Regions from separate parts of the Homo sapiens genome. Here region 1 is linked to region 2. Evidence: promoter capture Hi-C in 16 types of primary human blood cells and fetal thymus (Javierre and others, 2016). All regions are on one chromosome and are shown on one strand. The core of a region is centred on a gene start or on the middle of the fragment in contact, and the rest is flanking DNA. Distances in the headings are between cores, read along the strand shown.

Region 1 (4,769 bases), core at 433-2,932, 870 kb before region 2:
GCTTCCCTCAAGATCACCTTTACGAAAGCTTTCCCCTCCCTGGTAATACCAAACACAAACTTCAAACAGAGTGGACTGTTTCCTCCCTTCTTTGCCCAGAGTGTATCTACTACAACATCTATTACATACATTTGAAAGTATCAGTCTTTCTCTATGATGCCATGTCACACAGACCCTTCTATTTTGTCTCCCAGGGCCTAACACTGTGCTTGATAGATGTAGGACCTGCACCTTTCTCCAGATGAGCCTGCACATGGATGGTATGGAAGTTGTGGTCTAGAAGGGACTTGCTTTCTTTCTTACTGCCTCTGATCTTGTCACTGTTCTCTTTGGGCCCAGTTCTGTTTAACCATTTTGTTTATTTTTGCACTTAATGTTTACCCCCAAAAGGGAAGGGGCTTCTCTCAGCCTTCCTCTGTGTGATATTCTGGAGTTTGGCCATTGTGACAGCTCATCTCCAAAAATGGTGACCATCAACACCTTCTGTCCCAAAACACACACACCATTCCTTACAACATGAGGTGTAATCTCATTCCTCTTTCTGGTATCTGGGTTGACATTAGTGACTTGAGGAGACTAGAAACGTGGGGACTTCCTGGGACATCCAAGGCTGGGTAAAAACGAGCCTTGAGGCTTCTTCCTGGGTCTCTTGGAATGCTTTCTCTGGGGAAAATCAGCTGCCATGCTGTGAGAAGCCTAAGTCACATGGAAAGGTCATATGTAGGAGCTCAAGTTGACAGCCCCAGTCGCACCCCAAGCTGACCACCAGCATCAATTGCCAGCCATGTATGTGAGCCATCTCGAATATCTAGCCCACCTGAGCTTTTAGATGATTCCAGCCAGTGACATCTGACACCAAGTGAGAATTGCTCAGTGAGCCCTGTAAACCCACAGAATAAGAGATGATAATAGATTGTTTTAAGAAGTTTTGGGGGTGGCTTATTATGCAGCAACAGATAACCAAGCCATTTGAAGTAAAAATGAGTTATTTCCAGACAAGAAGATAATTTCTCTCTATTCAGCACTGACATAGTGCACCACCTGCCCCCGTGGCAAGAGCCATGCAGGTTCCTCACTGAGCATTCAGTAAAAGCTTGATAAGTGAATAAATCAGTCAACGGCTGGAAGGAAAAGGTGGTAACCGCCAGCCTGTGAGGTCCCCAAGAGCAGGGCCTGCTTATTCCTCCTCTTTCTTCTTTTCAGGACACTAAGTATCTGGAACAGCCTAGAGGAAGTGTCTGACCAATGTCAGAGTGCATTTGAGTTCAAATGTCCATCCTTGGTTGCCTTCTGTGTTTATCAATCATCATGATTCAGAGATCTGTCCTCAGCAAGAATACCAGATAAAGTCTTAGATATGTCAGAACATATCTTAGAGACGCTTTAGGTTAGGGAAAAAAACAAAACCAGAAGGGATTACAGAAACTGTTTCTGCAGCTCTATTCAGGACTATTTACCTGAAGACACTATAAATGCCAACCTTGACTGTGGCACTCATGGCTCAGGGTTTCTTTTCTTTTTATTCCCAAGGCCGTCTTTCAGTGTGCCTTCTTGATAACACATATCACTGCTCCTTCTCTATGTCTGCAGCTTTCACATACTGACAAATCTTCAGCATGCACCGATCTTTTGGTTCATTTGTCCTATTTAGTACTAGAAATGTCTGCTTTCAAATGCTGGCTCCCCTTTTCTGACCTCAGAGTCCATGCTAGGGAGGCAATATGGGCAGTGGAATGGGCATGAGAGTGAGGGCTGGTGAGTGTAAAGATCTGTGCCCCAAACTTAGCTTGGCTGTGAACTGGCTAGGTGGCCTTAATTCCCTTGCCCTGGAAATGAGGGCTTGGTCTGAATACTTCAGGTGAAGTCTGACTGTGCCTGCTGCAACCTTACTCCACTTCCCTCTACAATCTGCCAAGGCTTTTCCCAGGTGGTCACTGCATCTTTTCACTGTGCCATACAGCAGTCACTCCTACTGTGGGCTTCTCTCCATCACTCCTACTGTGGGCTTCTCTCCATCACTCCTACTGTGGGCTTCATGGGTTTGTGTGCTTTAGAGAGCTTCTTTTCTTAATGACTTCCCAAGTCATACATTTGTGCTATTACACCAATCAGACGTAGATTTTCACATAGTCCCATATTTCTTGGGGGCTTTGTTCATTTCTTTTTACTCTTTTTTCTCTAAACTTCTCTTTTCGCTTCATTTTCATTCATTTGATCTTCAATCACTGATACCCTTTCTTCCAGTTGATCGAATCGGCTACTGAAGCTTGTGCATGCATCACGTCACTCTCATGCCATGGTTTTCAGCTCCATCAGGTCATTTAAGGACTTCTCTACACTGTTTATTCTAGTTAGCCATTCATCTACTCTTTTTTCAAGGTTTTTAGCTTCTTTGCAATGGGTTCAAACATCCTCCTTTAGCTCGGATAAGTTTGTCATTACCGATCATCTGAAGCCTTCTTCTCTCAACTTGTCAAAGTCATTCTCCATCCAGCTTTGTTCCATTGCTGGCGAGGAGCTGCGTTCCTTTGGAGGAGAAGTGCTCTGATTTTTAGAATTTTCAGCTTTTCTGCTTTGGTTTCTCCCCATCTTTGTGGTTTTATCTACCTTTGGTCTTTGATAATGGTGACGTACAGATGGGGTTTTTGTGTGCATGTCCTTTCTGTTTGTTAGTTTTCCTTCTAACAGTCAGGACCCTCAGCTGCAGGTCTGTTGGAGTTTGATGGAGGTCCACTCCAGACCCTGTTTGCCTGGGTATCAACAGTGGACGCTGCAGAACAGCAAATGTTGCTTTCTGATCCTTCACTCTGGAAGCTTTGTCTCAGAGGGGCACCCTGCCATATGAGGTGTCAGTCGCCCCCTACTGGGAGGTGCCTCCCAGTTAGGCTCCTGAGGGTTCAGGGACCCACTTGAGGAGGCAGTCTGTCCGTTCTCAGATCTTAAACTCCATGCTGGGAGAACCACTACTCTCTTCAAAGCTGTCAGACAGGGACGTTTAAGTCTGCAGAAGTTTCTGCTGCCTTTTGTTCAGCTATGCCCTGCCCCCAGAGGTGGAGGCTACAGAGGCAGGCAGCCCTCCTTGAGCTGCAGTGGGCTCCACCCAGTTCGAGCTTCCCAGCCGCTTTGTTTACCTACTCAAGCCTCAGCAATGGCGGATGCCCCTCCCACAGCCTCACTGCCTCCTTGCAGTTCAATCTCAGACTGCTGTGCTAGCAGTGAGAGAGGCTCCATGGGTGTGGGATCCCCTGAGTCAGGCGCAGGATATAATCTCCTGGTGAGCCCTTTGCTAAGGCCACTGGAAAAGCGCAGTATTAGGGTGGGAGTGTCCCGATTTTCCAGGTACCATCTGTCACGGCTTCCCTTTGCTAGGAAAGGTAACTCCCCGACCCCTTGCATTTCCTGGGTGAGGCAATGCCCCGCCCTGCTCCGTGGGCTGCACCCAGTGTCTGACAAGCCCCTGTGAAATGAACCCAGTACCTCAGTTGGAAATGCAGAAATCACCTGTCTTCTGTGTCAGTCACACTGGGAGCTGCAGACTCGTTGTGTTCCTATTCATGATGGGGAGAATGGAACCAAATTGGAAAACACTCTTCAGGATATTATCCAGGAGAACTTCCCCAACCTACCGAGGCAGGCCAACATTCAAATTCAGGAAATACAGAGAACACCACAAAGATATTCCTCAAGAAGAGCAACTCCAAGACACATAATTGTCAGATTCACCAAAGTTGAAACGAAGGAAAAAATGTTGAGGGCCACCAGAGAGAAAGGTCAGGTTACCCACAAAGGGAAGCCCATCAGACTAACAGCAGATCTCTCAGCAGAAACTCTACAAGCCAGAAGAGAGTGGGGGCCAATATTCAACATTCTTAAAGAAAAGAATTTTTAACCCAGAATTTCATATCCAGCCAAACTAAGCTTCATAAGTGAAGGAGAAATAAAATCCTTTACAGACAAACAAATGCTGAGAGATTTTGTCACCACCAGGCCTACCTTACAAGAGCTCCTGAAGGAAGCACTAAACATGGAAAGGAACAACCGGTACCAGCCACTGCAAAAACATGCCAAATTGTAAACACCATCAACGCTACAAAGAAACTGCATCAACTAACGAGCAAAATAACCAGCTAACATCATAATGACAGGATCAAATTCACACATAACAATATTAACCTTAAATGTAAATGGGCTAACTGCTCCAGTTAAAAGACACAGACTGGCAAATTGGATAAAGAGTCAAGACCCATCAGTGTGCTGTATTCAGGAGACCCATCTCAAATGCAGAAACACACATAGGCTCAAAAGAAAGGGATGGAGGAAGATCTACCAAGCAAATGGAAAACAAAAAAAAAGCAGGGATTGCAATCCTCGTCTCTGATAAAACAGACTTTAAACCAACAAAGATCAAAAGAGATAAAGAAGGCCATTACATAACGGTAAAGGGATCAATTCAACAAGAAGAGCTAACTATCCTAAATATATATGCATCCAATACAGGAGCACCCAGATTCATAAAGCAAGTCCTTAGAGACCTACAAATAGACTTAGACCCCCACACAATAACAATGGGAGACTTTAACAGCCCACTGTTAATACTAGACAGATCAATGAGACAGAAAGTTAACAAGAATATCCAGGAATTGAACTCAGCTCTGCACCAAACGGACCTAATAGACATCTACAGAACTCTCCACCCCAAATCAACAGAATATACATTCTTCTCAGCACTACACCACACCTATTCCAAAATTGACCACATAATTGGAAGT
Region 2 (4,589 bases), core at 256-2,755:
CTCCCATAGTCCATCAGGTCCCACCTGTCCACCAGGCCCCTGGCCCCTGCGTTGCCTTCCTCTGATACTTTTTTTGGGGTCTCATGGTTTGGGATCTGCTGGCAAACCTGTCTGGCCCCTGAAGGCTCATTCAGGTCAAGGGAGGAGGACACTTCAAGAAATGAAGGAAACTGTTCCCTGTCAAGCCCTGGTTTGCTGGGATTGGAGAAGCCAAGGCAGGACTAGGCAGCAAGGGAAGGCTGTCCTAGGCCCTATTTCCAGCCCCTACCCCTACCCTTTTCAGTCCAGGGGCTACTATTCCCTTTCAACTGCAAGCCCTCCTTGGGCTGACTTGTGAGTGGGTGATAGGAGAGCCACTGATACCATGAGGTGGGGCATCTGGACATTTCCGAACCATCCTGCCCAGCTGGTTACTATCCCTCATTCCTCGTGATAGGCCAGGTCTGTGGGCAGTTATTGCTGAGGGGGTCCTGCCCTGTGTCAAGTTGGTGGGGAGCATTCTCTCATCCTATCTGCACCAGAGGCAGAGCTGGGTTCCAGGGTAACTTCAGTAGAATCCTAGGGATGGTCTCCCCTCATTGTGAATGCTTCAGTTTACCAAGAGATTCTCCCCATTCTCACTTCATCCTGGAAATGGGAGTGGGCACCCACACAAGCATTCACAAGCGAGGACACTGAGGCTCTGAAAGGGCCACAAGCTGTGGAGTCAAGGTTGACACCAGCCCCAGTCTTCTGCCCACAGCAGGGAAGAGCCAGGGGCCTCCAGGACAGAAAGGACTGGGTTGTGCAGAGATGAGCTTCCTGGCTCTGGAAGAATCTAAACAGAGGCTGTGCAAACTCCGGGAACTGGGGCTTGGGACAGGCCTGCACACAGTGCCTGTTCAGCCCAGGGAAGCGAAGCGAGTGGCTGCAGAGGGCTGCATCCTGCCGTCCCCAGCCCCCCACAACCGTACAGCCGTGCCCAGGTTTCCGCTTAGGGAACCAGGAGGTCCAGGCCCTTTCTGCCAGCAGCCGGGCGTGCAAGCCCCCGACAGAGAGAAATCTTAAAGATAGCTAGAGCCACGGGGGCTGTAAGTTCAGCATGCCTCCTTTTCTGGTCTCCGCTGAAGCTGTCACTCCACCATTAAACCTGTGACTCTAGGCCTTAAGCCTGTTGAAGGTCGAGCCCCCAAAAGGGTCACATATGCTCCTGCCTTGGGCCGCGGGGCCCGGGACTCTTCCCGCGGGTGGGGTGGGGAGGAGCGGCAGGGTCTGAGGTGTGGGGGCGGGGGCGCACCCGGGGCGCTCGGGTAGCAGCTGGGGCGCAGGACGCCCGAGCCAGTAGGGCAGGATTCGGGCTGCGCGGGGACGAGAGGCGCGCGGGCACGGGTGGGCGCGTGGCCGCGGCGGGGGCGCGCGGGGGCGGGCCAGCCCGGGAAGAGAGAGGGAGGGAGGGAGAGAAGAGGGCGGTGCCGGCAGGTTGGCGGCGGCTGCTATTTGAGCGCAGGTCCCGGGCCGGGCGCTCAGAGCGCTTGGAGCCAGCGCTGCAGGGAGATAGCAGCGCGCAGCCCGCAGAGGCGCTGCGGCCCGTGCAGCCCCGGAGGCCCCTCGCGGAGAAGGCGGCGGCGGAGGAGAGGCCGAGTTACCGCCCGCCGCCCGCGCCCCCCCAACCCCGCCGCCGCCGCCGCCGCCGCCACTGCCCCCCCTCCCCGCGGCGCCGCATCTTGAATGGAAACATGGCGGTGCCGGCTCGGACCTGCGGCGCCTCTCGGCCCGGCCCAGCGCGGACTGCGCGCCCCTGGCCCGGCTGCGGCCCCCACCCTGGCCCCGGCACCCGGCGCCCGACGTCCGGGCCCCCGCGCCCGCTGTGGCTGCTGCTGCCGCTTCTACCGCTGCTCGCCGCCCCCGGCGCCTCTGCCTACAGCTTCCCCCAGCAGCACACGTAAGTGGCCTCGGCCGGCCGCGAGACCCCGGCCGAGCCTTGCGCCCCGCTCTGCCCCCGGTCCGCGCTACTCCTTCCCTGCGCTCCGCGCCAGGGCAGAGGCGCTGGGTCCGGCTGCCCGCTGCGCCCGGGGGCGACGGCCCCAAGCCCCGAAGGCTGGCAGCCGCGGTCCCGGCGCTCTGGCTGCGTCGCGAAACTTCCCCGCGGTGCCCCTGCTTCCCCCAAATCCCCCGAATGAGGCAAGGCAAGATCTTCAAGCCCCGGGAGGAGTTGGGGGGGGGCGGTCCGAGCTTGTCAGCTGATTCCCCTGCCGCTGACCCGGTGAGAGGGAAACCCGGGTTGGGTGAGAGGGGCGGCCAGCGACCCCTGTCCGGCGGAGTTGGAGCCGCGCATCTGCCCCACGTTCCCTCCCTGGTGGGAATCCGGCGCTTTACAGCCAGAGGTGAGGGACATCTCCACACCTGCCTTCAAGGGCCTTTTCCTTTAGTGGGGAGCTGTATGCTGATGATGCGAGCACCTTCTTGCTGTGGCCAGTGCCACAGAGGCAGTGTCCCCTGTTCTTGGCCCCCCTCCACCTGAGGAGAGAGTACCCTGGAGAGCCCAGTTGGGAGGTGAAGGCGTTGGGGTCCGGGCAGAAGGTGAATGGTGGGAAGGACCCCTGCCTGCGCCTGCTGCTGCTGCCAACAGAGTAATAGCTTCTCCTGGCTCTGCCAGCCTCCGCAGGTTTTTTGGTCCTTCTGAGCCTTCTCCTCCTCCCCAAGAGCCAGCAAACTCGGGCTGCCTCCTACGGGTGAGCTTAGCCAGATGTGTCTGGGGCTGGGAGTGGATGTTCAGTGCATGTGGCCTTTAGGACGTATCAGTTTCCTGACACTGTGCTTCAGCCCTATGTCAGTGCCCAGACCCCCTTTGGGGCACGGTGACCACCTTGCTTCTGTTATCTGTCTCCGGGTCTGAGGAGCCACCTGTCCCTGGACTCCTTCACCAGTGTCCTGGCCTGGAGACTGGGGCATGAGTCGTCGGGCTGCTGGTGGCCAAGGGGAAGGGTCTGGCCTCGGGGAAAGGGAGAGGCTGGCTCTGCGTCATTTAAACCAGCTCTGCCCAAGGGTAAGAGCCCCTGGTTCTGCCACAAAACCTGCCGACTCCAGTTCGTAGGCTCTCTAAGATGAGGGAAAAACAAACTCAGGAAAACCGCCTCTCTGGGTCTCTCTCTCCGTCTTGTCGTCTCTCTCATTGCACAGCCTGGCTGTGCTCAGGCAGGTGATCAGTTGGCAAATTACAAGTGCCGCACGGACGTGTCCTCTGTCAACCGTCTGGATTTTTCACATGTGTGTTTGGGGGTTGCCCAGGGAGAAAAGAATCGAATGGAAGTTCAGGGCTGGTGGATGCGTTATTGTCTTTCATTTGCCGTGATGGAAATGGACTTCAATCATAGTGCTTAAAAAAAGCAAAAGCATTATTTTTTTGTTGTTCTTTCTTCCTCAAAGCCAAGCACGAGCCAAGCCACAATTATTTTTTTCTTAGCCGTTTCATAGCTCCTTGAGTGAAGGTTTAAGTGGATGTCTCTTTCCACCTCTCCCGACCTCACTCCCTTTCCCTGCAACGTGCAGTTGGTCAGATGGCTTCTGGGCCTGCACGAGTCTCCTCTAGAAGGCCGATGTGAGAACCTGACCAGAGTAGGCACCTATCCCTCTGTCCCCAGCCAGAAGATGGCGAGGCGGGTGTGACGGCAGCGACACACTTCCAGCTGGACGCTGTTGTCGATATAGTTGGAGCTAATTTGGGGGTTTGGGACATGTCTTGCAAACTGTAATTAGAGAATGAGGGTGGGGGTGGGGTGGGGGCTGTGCCGCTCTGAGGGTCCAGGGGGAGGTGACTAATGGTACAACAACACAGAGGGTTTGCTGTGACAGCCAGTGCCCTTCAGCTGCCCTGGTCCCGCAGACGAGGATGCACATTGATCCTTGGAGGGAGGAAGGGGCCCACACATGACCATGGCCAGTGGAATTGGTGCTTTTGTTGAACTGGTAAGAAAGGTTTAGGCTGTTGTTCGGGCCAGAAGGTTCTGTGGGGCTGCTCAGGGATGGGTGACCTCCCAGAACCTTCTGCTGGGTCAGTGTGGCCAGGCTGGGATGACACTTTGATACAGGTGGATTTCCAAGGAGGAGAGTGGAACCCAGCTTCATGGCACTGGAGTGACAACCCCTCAGTGGGGAAGGCCCCTGATGAGCAAGTCATTTTCTCATTAGTGTCTGCCAGTGCACAGGGGCCCAGCTTCACAAGCTGCTGGATTTTAAGCAAGTGTGGGTTTGGGGTCTGCTAGCTATGATTTCTGCAATCGCTCTGGCAGCATGGCTCTCTGCCCACCAGGCAAAATGGACCAAGGCTGCTGCTGGATTGAGAAGGGCAGAGGGGTTACTGCTGAAGGGAGGACAGGGCTTCAGGGTTTTTTTTTGGGCGGGGGGTGGGGGGGTTGGGCTGTCTCACCTTACCTGGACCTGGATCAGAGTTTCAAACAAGGAGGAGGCTACATGTTTGCACACATGTATGCACATGTATGTGCACTTGTCCGGCTGGGTGTGGGGGACCTGAGTCCGAGCACACCTTTCACCTGCCTCCTTTTTCCAGTTATGCCCTCCCCAGCATCAGGCCACCACCGCCGGCTGAGGGG

Evidence for each region. Contacts are between HindIII fragments. The CHiCAGO score rates a contact against its expected background, and 5 or more counts as called.
Region 1: a fragment that was not itself captured here is called in contact with the fragment with the promoter of CACNA2D2 in region 2 in 1 of 17 cell types (total B cells); the score reaches 5.2 in total B cells.

Annotation. Positions count from the first base shown.
Region 1 is chr3:51,366,901-51,371,669 of GRCh38, reverse strand. All of the region lies in intron 49 of DOCK3 (dedicator of cytokinesis 3), which reads right to left. Among named protein-coding and RNA genes, the nearest start is that of MANF, 16 kb to the left of the region's middle. The HindIII fragment of the contact is 1,173 bases long and covers 1,096-2,268 here.
Region 2 is chr3:50,500,550-50,505,138 of GRCh38, reverse strand. It overlaps CACNA2D2 (calcium voltage-gated channel auxiliary subunit alpha2delta 2), which reads left to right and starts at 1,505. Exons shown (of 38, transcript NM_006030.4): 1 at 1,505-1,921. The coding sequence starts at 1,716. RefSeq lists enhancers at 377-885, 886-1,394. The HindIII fragment of the contact is 14,978 bases long and covers 1-4,589 here.